3 separate regions of the Homo sapiens genome follow, and all the other regions are linked to region 2. The links are contacts of gene promoters, found by promoter capture Hi-C in blood cells and fetal thymus (Javierre and others, 2016). All regions are on one chromosome and are shown on one strand. Each heading gives the region's core, a stretch centred on a gene start or on the middle of the fragment in contact. The rest is flanking DNA. Distances are from core to core; before and after follow the strand shown. Region 1 holds the start of DLEC1 (DLEC1 cilia and flagella associated protein). Region 2 holds the start of SCN5A (sodium voltage-gated channel alpha subunit 5). Region 3 holds the start of ACAA1 (acetyl-CoA acyltransferase 1).

The links. The method cuts DNA at HindIII sites, captures the fragments that hold promoters and counts their contacts. A CHiCAGO score of 5 or more calls a contact.
Region 1: the fragment with the promoter of DLEC1 here is called in contact with a fragment that was not itself captured in region 2 in 1 of 17 cell types (fetal thymus); the score reaches 5.3 in fetal thymus.
Region 3: a contact is called between the fragment with the promoter of ACAA1 here and a fragment that was not itself captured in region 2, in 2 of 17 cell types (fetal thymus and activated CD4 T cells). The highest score is 5.8, in fetal thymus.

The regions. Positions count from the first base shown.
Region 1 is chr3:38,037,670-38,041,457 of GRCh38, reverse strand. DLEC1 (DLEC1 cilia and flagella associated protein) reads right to left here and starts at 2,250. Exons shown (of 37, transcript NM_007335.4): 1 at 1,822-2,250. The coding sequence starts at 2,232. RefSeq lists enhancers at 1,456-1,685, 1,976-2,185. The HindIII fragment of the contact is 3,706 bases long and covers 1,888-3,788 here.
Region 2 is chr3:38,649,025-38,652,745 of GRCh38, reverse strand. SCN5A (sodium voltage-gated channel alpha subunit 5) reads left to right here and starts at 3,059. Exons shown (of 28, transcript NM_000335.5): 1 at 3,059-3,215. RefSeq lists a silencer at 2,941-3,100. The HindIII fragment of the contact is 703 bases long and covers 1,201-1,903 here.
Region 3 is chr3:38,135,629-38,139,535 of GRCh38, reverse strand. ACAA1 (acetyl-CoA acyltransferase 1) reads left to right here and starts at 2,409. Exons shown (of 12, transcript NM_001607.4): 1 at 2,409-2,671; 2 at 2,851-2,944. The coding sequence starts at 2,501. It overlaps MYD88 (MYD88 innate immune signal transduction adaptor), which reads right to left and starts at 875. Exons shown (of 5, transcript NM_002468.5): 1 at 508-875. The coding sequence starts at 835. RefSeq lists enhancers at 152-281, 782-1,191, 351-1,294. The HindIII fragment of the contact is 10,893 bases long and covers 1-3,907 here.

The DNA of each region.
Region 1 (3,788 bases), core at 1,001-3,500, 610 kb after region 2:
GATTTTTATAATGTGGGCCAGGCACAGTGGCTCACACCTGTAATACCGGCATCTGGAGAGGCTGAGGTGGAAGGATCAATTGAGGCCAGAAATTTGAGACCAGCCTGGGCAACATAGTGGGACCCCATCTCACAATTTTTAAAAAATAAAAATTTAGGCCAGATGTGGTGGCTCATGCCTGTAATCCCAACACTTTGGGAGGCCAAGGTGGGCAGATCACGAGGTCAGGAGATCGAGACCATCCTGGCTAACACAGTGAAACCCTGTCTCTACTAAAAATACAAAAAAATTAGCCAGGTGTGGTGGCAGGCGCCAGCTACTCAGAAGGCTGAGGCAGGAGAATGGCATGAATGTGGGAGGTGGAGCTTGCAGTGAGCTGAGATTGCGCCATGCACTCCAGCCTGGGTGACAGAGTGAGACTCCATCTCAAATAAATAAATAAATAAATAAATAAGCTGGGCATACTGGTGCACACCTGTGGTCCTAGCTACTCCAGATGCTGAGGAGGGAGGATCAGTTGAGCCCCTGATGTTAAGGCTGCAGTGAGCTGTGATCACATCACTGCACTCCAGCCTGGGCAACAGAGCCAGACTCTGTCAAAAAAAAAAATTTGTAATATGTATTACTTTTTTTCTTCAAAAAAAGGGATCACTATTTGCCAATTCAGACTCTGGTATAGTGGCTACTTATGGGACAGATACTGAGAAGATAGAATCCAGTGAACTGGGTGACTGGTCATGGGGTTTATAGGTTTATAATGCTCCATATATTCTGGCTCATGTGAATGACAGGGATGTGAGTCTGAAGTTCAAGGGCAAGGTCTGGCTGGGTAGGCTGAAGTCTTAGCAGAGTGAATGTGGTGACCCACGAATCACAGAGTACAGGATCCCAGCCAGGGGCTCTGGCTGCACTTTAAGAAGCCTATAACCCGTGGAGGCGGCGAGACTGGTCCTGTAAGTATCTCACATACTGTATAGGTATTCATTTTGTTAATGTCTATCTACCTCAGTTAGGTTGAAAGCTACAGAGGACAGGTTGCGTGTGTGAGTGTGGGTGTGCCCGAACACTGGCGTTTTTATTCACTGCTGAATCCCCACTGCCTAGAACAGAGTATGACACCCAGCAGACATTCAACAAATGTGTTAAGTGAAGGAATGACTGAAGCTAACGACGTGGGATGCATGTCACTTAAGGGGCAGGTAGAGGACAGAACAGAAAGGAGAAGAAGAAGATCTGAGAGGCAGGAAGCACACCGGGGTAAAGGATCGGGTATGGGAGGAGTGCCCACAAGTTTAAGGGAGTCTTCAGTAGTGTGGCCAGCAGAGGCCGACTCAGCACAGAGGCCGCGAGTCAGCTGGTTTTCTCCTTGTACAGATGAGGAAGCAGAGTTGCTGTTCTAGAGGCTAGACACGCTTCCTAAAATCTGCGCATGAATGGCCCAGTCAAGATTGTGGTTTGTGATACAAAGGCACCCCAAAGCCGGGTGACTTTTGGCTTTATCCTCTCCATGGAACAACTATTCAGCGGTCTGCCGCAGTCGTTCATTGATATATGCAATATATAACGTATGTGTCTAGAGAAATATAGACAGGTGCTACAGATATATGCCGCACGTTGTGTGGTATGTGTGGTATTTGCGCATGTGTGTGTATGGATAGAGCGTCCTTCCACTAGAATGTCGGGCCCACTTCGGCATGATGGGCTGTTTCTCAACTGCAGCCCCAGATCCTGGAACAGCGCCTGGCACCTGGCAGGTGCTGACGCGTGCCGAGCGCTGAGACCCCGGCACCGTCCGCAGACGCGACGCCACCGCCACGTTACCTGCTGCAGCTGGTCCACGAACTCCTCGTGGCGCTCATTCTCGCTGCCGCGGGCCTTGATCAAGCTTGCGCTCACTTCGTCGCCGATGACCTCGGCTGAGTACAAGTTGCGGAAGACGCCGGTGAGCAAGTGCGAGATATCTTGGGTGCGCAGCGAGGAGGGGCGCAGACGAAGCAGCTGAGGCTCGGGACGCTGCGCCAGCGCAAGCTGCGTGAGGCGGCGGGGCCGGGCTGCGAAGCTGTAGTGGAAGGCCTCAGAGTAGGCGAGGGAGGAATACAAGGAGGACTTCCAGGTGGGCTGGCTGGGGCTGCTGGACCCGGCTGGTGGCGAAGTTGGCGCCCACATTGTCCCCTGGCACTCGTTGGTCCGGGACGCTAAAGACCTCCGCGTTTTGGAGCTCCTGGTCTCCATGGCAACCGAGACGCCGCTAACTCCCTGCGGCACTTCGGCTTCCGGCCTCACCCCTTCCGCCTTGCCTTTCTCTCGGATCCCGTCATCGCTGTGGTCATTGTAAACATTTGTGTCTTCAGCATTGTCCTTTTAAAAGTGAGCTTACTAAGTGTGAGGACCCATGAAGAAAGGTTTAATTGACACAGCCAGGCCTATCTGCAAAACCTTGTACCTAACTACCTACCTTCATCCATTCTTTAATTTGTTAAGCAACTGTTCATTCACTCATCATATTTATTGTGTAAAGATTGTGTTTCAGGTCTGTGCTGATTGCTGAAGATACCAAAGAAGTATGATGCTGCTTCTGCCTTCAGGAAGTGCACAGTCGTGTATGTGTGTGTTTGTGATGATGGCGGTGGGTGTGGAGGTAAAAGTAAAACAACTGTACTTTAGTGGGTTAAGGCCAAGGTGGAGATAAATATTGGTTGTCATGGAACTACAAAGGAGGACAGGAACTTAGTCTGTAGAAGGAGCGATTACTTCTTGGAACAAATGAAAACCAAGCAGAGATTTCAAAGAAGGAGTAGACTGAACATCATTAGTCATCAAAGAAGTGGAAATTAAAACCACAATGCAGTACTACAGTTAGTAGAATGACAAAAAACAAAAAAGTACCTAAATAAGAGCGTGTGTGTGGTGGCTCACACCTGTAATCCCAACACTTTGGGAGGCTGAGGCACGAGGATCACTTGAAGCCAGGAGTTTGAGACCAGCCTGGGCAACATAGGGAGACCCCATCTTTACAAAATATTTAAAAATGTGGGAAGGACGGAATGAAATTCAGGAGGAGTGGAACTTAAAGAGTGTGAGGGTGGAGGAATGACACTGATAGGTTAGGGCCAGATCATAAGTGGGTTGGTAGGCCACAATAGGGAATTTGGACTTTATTTTGAGGGCAGTAGGAGGTTCATCAAGGGTCTTAAGCTGGGGCATGTCATGGTCAGCTCTGTTTTACTAAGATCATTCTGATTGCTATGAGAATAGACAGGAGAGGCAAGAGGCATCAGGAAGTTCAGTTAGGAAACTAGCACAGAAGTTAGGAAAGAGATGAAGGGAGATTGGATGAGAGAGAGGGAACTGGATTGGAGATAGATCCAAAAAGTAGAATTGATAAGACTTGCTGGTGGATAATGGGAGGTAAGAAACAGGCACCAAGAATGACTCCCAGGTATCCTGTGTGTGCAATCAGGGGGGTGATGACAGCATCACTGAGATGGAAAAGAGGACTGCATTTGTCCAGGGCAGCAGCATAACATCACATTGACTGTTGTCATTTGCACACCATGGCTTTTGCTCACAGGTGATACAACCAACCACTTTCTACTCCACACTGAGTTTGCTTGCCTTACATCCTGAAACCCACTTCCAGAGATGAGTGCTAGCATGCTTGCCCACACACCTGGGCTACTTCCACTTCTACTTCTCTTGGTTGGGCCTGGCTCTCTCTTTTGTCCTTTCCAGGACCTTTTCTGTCCTGAGAGCTGAGAAGCCAGGGCCGCCTGCCCTGGACTGTGTGC
Region 2 (3,721 bases), core at 303-2,802:
AAAGAGGTCTTCTGTGGTACTGATAACGTTTGGTTTCTGTGTTGTGCTGCTCACACGGATGTGTTCAACAACAGAAAACCCTTTCAAGTGAACACTTAGGATTTGTGCAGTTTTCCATTATGTAGGTTCAATGGAAGTAAAACATAAAAAGAAAAGCTTTGGGCTGTTAGAAGAGAAAATGCATATGCACAAACAACAATACTACCTGTTTTACAAGGATGTGCACATAAAGACCTACTTTAGCTCCTAGAGGGGTGCCTGTGTGGAGAAGGAGATGGCAGTGGAGTGATGATGGGGGAAGAAATAAAACAAAAACACAAGAGAGGAGTAATGATATGGTTAACCCAGCTTTGAACCTGAGGCAAAGTAAAGGCAAACCCTGGGCGAAACTGAGGGGCGAATAAAGGACATACTAGTTTTTAAAAACATTTATCTCTGACAGCTGACAACATGTTCCTGTTATTGCTTTAATTAAATAGGGTTGGCCAGACATGGTGGCTCACGCCTGTAATCCCAGCACTTTGGGAGGCCGAGGTGGGTAAATCACGAGGTCAGGAGTTCGAGACCAGCCTGGCCAACATGGTGAAACCCCGTCTCTACTAAAAATACAAAAAATTAGCTGGGCATGGTGACGAGCACCTGCAATCCCAGAGACTCAGGAGGCTGAGGCAGGAGGATTGCTTGAACTGGGGAGGCGGAGGTTGCAGTGAGCCGAGATCACGCCACTGCACTTCAGCCCTGGAGGCAATGCAAGACTCCGTCTCAAACAAAACAAAACAAAACAAAACAAAAAATTTAAATAGGGTCTGGCAAAGAGAAGGGAGTAGCCAAGATCTTGGCAAGGGCTCTTTGTAGGAAGTGCCTGTCTCCAGACACCTGTTGCCTGTCTCTGCACTCTGAGGCCTCTCTAGGACCACAAGGTGTGCTTTTATGGATGAACTTCTACAGGTTCAGAGCTCTGGTTCCCCATCCCCTGGGCTTCTCTCCCCCTGTTTAAATTCAGGGTGCATGTAGACTTACCAGGCTCAGCCCACCTCTCCTGCTGGCAACATCCAGTTGCCCAATACTAAACAGGAGAGTGAAAACCCCACTTCTGCTACATATGGACGGAAGGGAGGCAGGTATCCACCCCTACTCCCAGCAGCTTCTATCCTAGCCTTGTCTCCTGCTTGACCCAATGTCAGTTTGCAAGTAGAAGCTTCATTCTGAGGCCGAGAAGCCCGTGATGGAAGTTCTTAGGGGAGGTAGGACCTTCCTGCTACTGTACTCTCCTGCCTGGTAGGTGTGACTCTGGGAAGGCGGCTGCACGTGGGTTGAAACGTTGACACTGCCTGCACTTCCCCTTCTGGCCGATAGTGGGAGCTGCTAGCCAACCTGAGGCTCGTCAGGCGCTAAAGGCTGGCAGCCGACCTGTGTGGTCCATCCGTCTGTACCCCAGACACCCCACTCAACTCGGGGCCGGAGAGGCCCATGTCCTGAACTTTCCTGTGGACTGACTTTCCTACTGATCCCCTCCTGCAAGCAGAGCAGCCCCTCCGTATGTACCTAAGGCGTCCAACGAAGCCCCACACCCAGGTCGCAAACGGACGCTGTCCCCCACCCCCCTCTTTGCCCTCCCACCTCTTCAAGATCCCCATCATGGAGGAGCAGGTCCCAGCCTCTGGGCTCCCAAACCCAGCACCTCTGTGCCCTCTGAGACCCTGGCACCCATTTGGCTCTCTAAGAGCGGTTCTTGCTTTTGGGAGCCCTGAAAATGTGGCAGAAAAGTGTACCATCCCTTCCAATGACTGTACTTTTTTCGTGGGCAAAAGCTGATGGCCTGTTTTTTGTTGTTGTTTTGTTTTGTTTTTGTTTTTGTTTTTAGAAGCGCAAGATTTATTGTGAAGAGGGAAAGAACAAAGCTTCCACAGCGTGGAAGGGGACCCAAGCGGGTTGCCCTGATGGCCTGTTTTGTTTAAACAAGAAGTGTGTCCCCATAGGTCCTGGGCATGGGCATGGGAGCAACTGTTTGTCAGCGTATGTCTCCGTGTGTGTGTGCCTGTGACCATGTCTCTGAGTGAGAAACAGTGGGTGTGTAAGTATGTGACTCCAGGCTCTGCATGTGTCAAGGTGAAGGTTGTATGTGGCTCAAGAGGGTGGAAGTATATATATAAAGAGGTATATACATGTATATATATGTATGTGTGTGTGTGTGTTTGCGCGCGCGCGTGTGTGGGTGTCTCTGTGTTGGTTGCCTGCTTGCTTCTGGGTCTGGGTGTGTGTTTGGTTCTGTCAGCATGTGCGTCCGTGTGTTCAGGTAGATGTGTACCATTGTGCAGATTTCTGTGGCATCACTAAGTGTGTCTCCAGGAAAGTGTGGTTCGAGTGAGTGTGTGTGTCTCTGTGTCAGTGTGTCAGTGGATGTGTGTCTAAGTCATGTGGGTGTCTAAGTTTGTCAGAGTGTCTTCCTCAGTGTCAGTGTGTGTCAATGATGTGTCTGTCTGTGTCTGTGTGGGTGTGTGGGGGTGTGTATCTGTCTCAGGGTGCATGTGTGTGTCTGTGTCAGTGCAGGTATGCCTATGGCAGCGTGTGTCTGTCTCGGCATGAGTGTCAGTGTATGCCCGTGTCCACGTGGGTGGGTGGGTGTCTGGTAGCCTTCCCAAGTCAGCAAGGTTGCGTGTGTGTGTGTGTATACTCTGGCGGGTGCTGGTGTGTATGCCAGTGTTTGTTAATGTGAGCCTGTCCGCGTCCGCGTGGGTGGCCATCTGTGGTGAAGCGTCGCCGGGTCGCCGTGTGTGTACCCCCGCCTATGTCTGTCTGTCCGCGGCCGCGTGTGCGGCTGTCTGTGGCTGTGAGCCCCCGGGTCAGTGTGGGAGTGTGCGCCCCGGCGGGCGCTGGTGTGTCCCCCCTCCGAGCGGGCGGAGCACCACGTGCGGAGCCCTGGGCGCGTCGCTCTGGGGCGGAGCCAGCCCGGGGCCCCAAGCCCCAGGCCGAACCCAGGCGGGGCCCGCCCCGACCCCGCCCCCGACCCCGCCCCCAGCCCGAGCCCGCGCCGCCTGCCCAGCCCGGGAGCCCGAACAGAGCCGCGGAGCCGAGACGGCGGCGGCGCCCGTAGGATGCAGGGATCGCTCCCCCGGGGCCGCTGAGCCTGCGCCCAGTGCCCCGAGCCCCGCGCCGAGCCGAGTCCGCGCCAAGCAGCAGCCGCCCACCCCGGGGCCCGGCCGGGGGACCAGCAGGTGAGCGAGTGCCCCCGCGCCCGGCAGCCCTGGCCCGGCCGGAGCCCCCTCCGCCTGCCGCCGCCCAACTTTCCTCCCCGAGGGCCGAAGCCTCCAGTCCCTGCGTGCTCCTCCCTGCCCCGGGTCCGCCCAGCCGCTCCCTCCCCGATCAGTGCCCCAGAGAGCCGGAGGGGGAGAAGGGGCGCAGATCCGCCCGGCTGGAGGGTATCCCCGGGGGAGACGTCTCTAAACACCGTGCGCCCCCCTTCCCTTCCCTTTCCTTCCGGGTTTCCCGGTGCGCTGTCGAGGGCCGGGGGAGGGGGAGCTGCGGCCCCAGCTTCCCGGCCATCCCTGGCGCAGGCTCGGGGAGGGTCTGGGATTGGGACCCGGATACCGGAGGCCGGAGACCCCAAGGTCAGAGCGGCGACTAGGCGCGCCATGAATGTGGTTCCAGAGAGCGGGGTTTGCGGGGGCTGACCGAGCAGGGCTGGATATGGGGGAGGAAGCCACGCACCCCCTTTCTCTGG
Region 3 (3,907 bases), core at 1,160-3,659, 510 kb after region 2:
GGCATGCCAGAAAGGCTCAGGAGACCCACTGGTTATGGTGCAGTGATTCCAACTCAGCAAGGTGTGCCTGTCTGTGGGCGGCTGTATCCAACGCCTATGCATGTATATTATGTAAGTGCCAGTGAGTAGAAAGAAGGGCTGCATTTCCCCAGGACTTGAGGTTTCTAAGACAGTCCACTGTCAATCGCCCCACCTGTCCTGTTGCTCTACTTGAAACAGCCCAGATGCCCCCACAGAAGCCTGATTCTGACTCCTGGCCCTACCTGAAAGCCTCTGCCTAAGCTGCTTCCTTCCCATCTCCGCCTATCCGGACCTTTCTCCAGTCCTTCTTAATAACCGCGACCGGTTATTAAGAAGGAACGGGACCCGCATGGTTCTCCCTCTGCAGGCTTCTTCGGGCCCCCGAGGCAGGAAATGGGGTCTCTCCATGGGAGACAGGATGCTGAGGCCGCGGAAAGTCAGCCTCCTCACCCCCCAGGTACGAGGCCAGGAAGGGGACGTCCTCACCAATGCTGGGTCCCAGCTCCAGCAGCACGTCGTCGCGGCCCAGCTTGGTAAGCAGCTCGAGCAGTCGGCCTACAGAGGCGCCAGGGCGTCCCTGCCAGGCGTCCAGCAGCCTGCCAGTGGGGTCCGCTTGTGTCTCCAGTTGCCGGATCTCCAAGTACTCAAAGTCCATCTCCTCCGCCAGCGCGGTCCAGTCGGCCGCCACCTGTGTCCGCACGTTCAAGAACAGAGACAGGCGGCGCCGCACTCGCATGTTGAGAGCAGCCAGGGGAAGGGAGGATGTGGAGGAGACCGGGGCCGCAGACCCCGCGCCGGGACCTCCTGCAGCCATGGCGGGCGGTCCTGGAGCCTCAGCGCGGTCGGGTCGCATTGTCTGCCAGCGCTTCCTCTTTCTCCTGCGGCACCCGCCCCGCCCCGCCGGCTTTCGCTTTCCGAGAAGCGCCGCCCTGCCCTACAATCTGGAGCCCCGAGCAAAAGTGCGGAGGCGGGGGTGCCCACCTCTACCCTTGAGGTCTCGAGGCGGGTGATGTGGGGGGCGTAAGAAGTAGGAATCTGCCTTTTGAGATCTGGAGAGGTCCACGGCACCGCCCTCGAGGGTCTGGTGATGGTGCTAGTAGGTTGGCGGCGGAGTGAGGACGACCCTCCTTCGGGGGTTGTAGGAAACGGGCCTTGCTTTTTGGGATCTGGTGGAGCCACAGTTCTTCCACGGAGGAATCTGAGGGGTTCATACGGTCCTGCCCTCGAGGATGGCGAGGAGGGGACAAGTGGGAAGGCACCAGCTCTGCCCTCCACTGTCTCTGGGGAACACGCAATCCTGCCAGTAGGGGTATGGGAAGACCCCTGCTGTGCTCCCCGAGGTGGGAGTGGGAAACGGACAGCTGCCTTCTGGAGCCTGAGGCATGCCGTGGCCCTGCCCTCGAAATGGTTGGGGACGTCATGACACTAGGTTGGGGAGCACAAGGCACCCTGTCCTTTGGTGTCTGTGGAAAGCCCAGCACTACTCTCCAGGGTCTCAGGTGAAGACATGGCCCTGCTATTGGGAGTCAAGGGGGCACGTGGCCTTGCCCTTTAGGTTTAGGGACACAGTCCTGACCTGGGGAGCCCTGGTTCATTCATTTACTCATTCGACAAGTACTTATTGATCATCTACTAAGTGTCAAGGGTGTCGCAGGCTCCCCGGATACATGGTACCTCTCTGCCTTGGTGGAGACCCCAGCCTAGCACGGGAAATGGGCACTAATAAAATCATTCCAATTGGGTGTAAAACTGGTAAAAGTGTGAAATGTTCATTCTCCAGTTAGAGAGCTTGTCACACCCCGCATGTCTGTAAAATCTGTTCTCCCGGCCAGCCCGGAAGCCCAAATTCCCTGTCTTCTCGAAAGAATGGGAAAGCCCAACCACGTCGGAGCAGGACTCGGGCGTCTCGGAAGTATTTAGGTCCCCCAGCTCGGGTACTGGGACCGGAGGGATAGCAGAGCCTCCTAGGAAGTGGGTAGAGGAATTAGAGCCTCGGCTTCCATCTCCAGCCCCCAAGCAGTAAGCGGTCCTGGCTGCCCAGCCTTCCGTTTGGCTGCGGGCAGGAGACAGGGATTTGGGGGTCAGGTCTCGGGTTTGGCTACAAAAGGTGGAAAGACTTCCGGTCTGCATTTCTGGGCGGGGATTCGTAAAGATACACCTTCTGGTTGGCTGCGGTAGGCCAAGGTAGGCGGGGCATTGAGTGGAAAGCTCGGCTGGGCGGTGCCTGTGGGCCCTCCTATAGAGGGCTTGGTAGGCGGTGGCGGGGAGGGGCGGGTTCCCAGGCCGACTCTCCTTGTGGTTGGCTGAGGCTGGAGGTGGACGGGACTTTTGGAGGGTCGCTCGCGTCTGTTCGCAGAGCTGTGGGCGGAGTTGAGGCCTTGGAGGCTGAGATGTGGTTCTGCGCGTGTGCGGACGGCTGTCTGTTAACTCCGCGGTCAGTTCCCGGACTGGTGGCTGGTCTGCAGGGTTGACCTGCGCAATGCAGAGGCTGCAGGTAGTGCTGGGCCACCTGAGGGGTCCGGCCGATTCCGGCTGGATGCCGCAGGCCGCGCCTTGCCTGAGCGGTGCCCCGCAGGCCTCGGCCGCGGACGTGGTGGTGGTGCACGGGCGGCGCACGGCCATCTGCCGGGCGGGCCGCGGCGGCTTCAAGGTGAGGCCCGAGGGTCTGGGCGCCGAGTGTGGGAAGACGCCGGCGCGGGCTGGGGTCCGGTTCGTATGTTTGGTTATCCTGGACGCCGGAGGCAGCTCCGCACCCAGCTGTGGTCGCTTTGTCTCCCTGGGGTGGGCATGGGGGAGTGGGGGTCACTGCGGCTGCTCTTTCTGCTGCAGGACACCACCCCCGACGAGCTTCTCTCGGCAGTCATGACCGCGGTTCTCAAGGACGTGAATCTGAGGCCGGAACAGCTGGGGGACATCTGTGTCGGTGAGCGAACCACTCAGGCCCTGCGCTGGGCCTTCCCCGTTCTTCCGTTCGTCCAGAGCTCTCCTCACCTCCCCGCCCCGAATTTTCACTGGGGGAACCTCCATGGCCTTGACCTTTGAAGGGGTCCTGCCCCTTCACACCTGTGGGTATTTCTCGTCAGATGGGAGGAGAGACTGAGAAAAGAAATAAGACGCAGAGACAAAGTGTAGAGTGGGCCCAGGTGACCGGCATCGGTCTCCGAGTTCCCTCAGTATTTATTGATTACTATTTTCACTATCTCGGCAAGGGGAGTGCGGCAGTGTGGGGGAAAGGAAGAGAGATCAGACTGTTACTGTGTCTGTGTAGAAAAGGAAGACAGAAGAAACTCCATTTTGATCTGTACTAAGAAAAATTTTTCTGCCTTGAGATGCTGTTAATCTGTAGCCTTAGCCCCAACCCTGTGCTCACAGAAACATGTGCTGTATTGAATCAAGGTTTGAGGGATTTAGGGCTGTGCAGGATGTGGCTTGTTAACCATTTGTTTGCAGGCAGTATGCTTGGTAAAAGTCATCGCCATTCTCCATTCTCGATTAACCAGGTACACAGTGCACTGCGAAAGGCCGCAGGGACCTCTGCCCAAGAAAGCCTGGGTATTGTCCAGGTTTCCCCCCACTGAGATTGTCTGAGATATGGCCTAGTGGGAAGGGAAAGACCTTACAGTCCCCCAGCCCGACACCCGTAAAGGGTCTGTGCTGAGGAGTATTAGTAAAAGAGGAAGGCCTCTTTGCAGACACCCGTAAAGGGTCGGTGCTGAGGAGTATTAGTAAAAGAGGAAGGCCTCTTTGCAGTTGAGATAAGAGGAAAGCATCTGTCTCCTGCTTGTCCCTGGGAATGGAATGTCTTGGGTGTAAAACCCAACCATACATTCTATTTACTGAGATAGGAGAAAACCGCCTTATGGCTGCAGGTGAGACATGCTGGCGG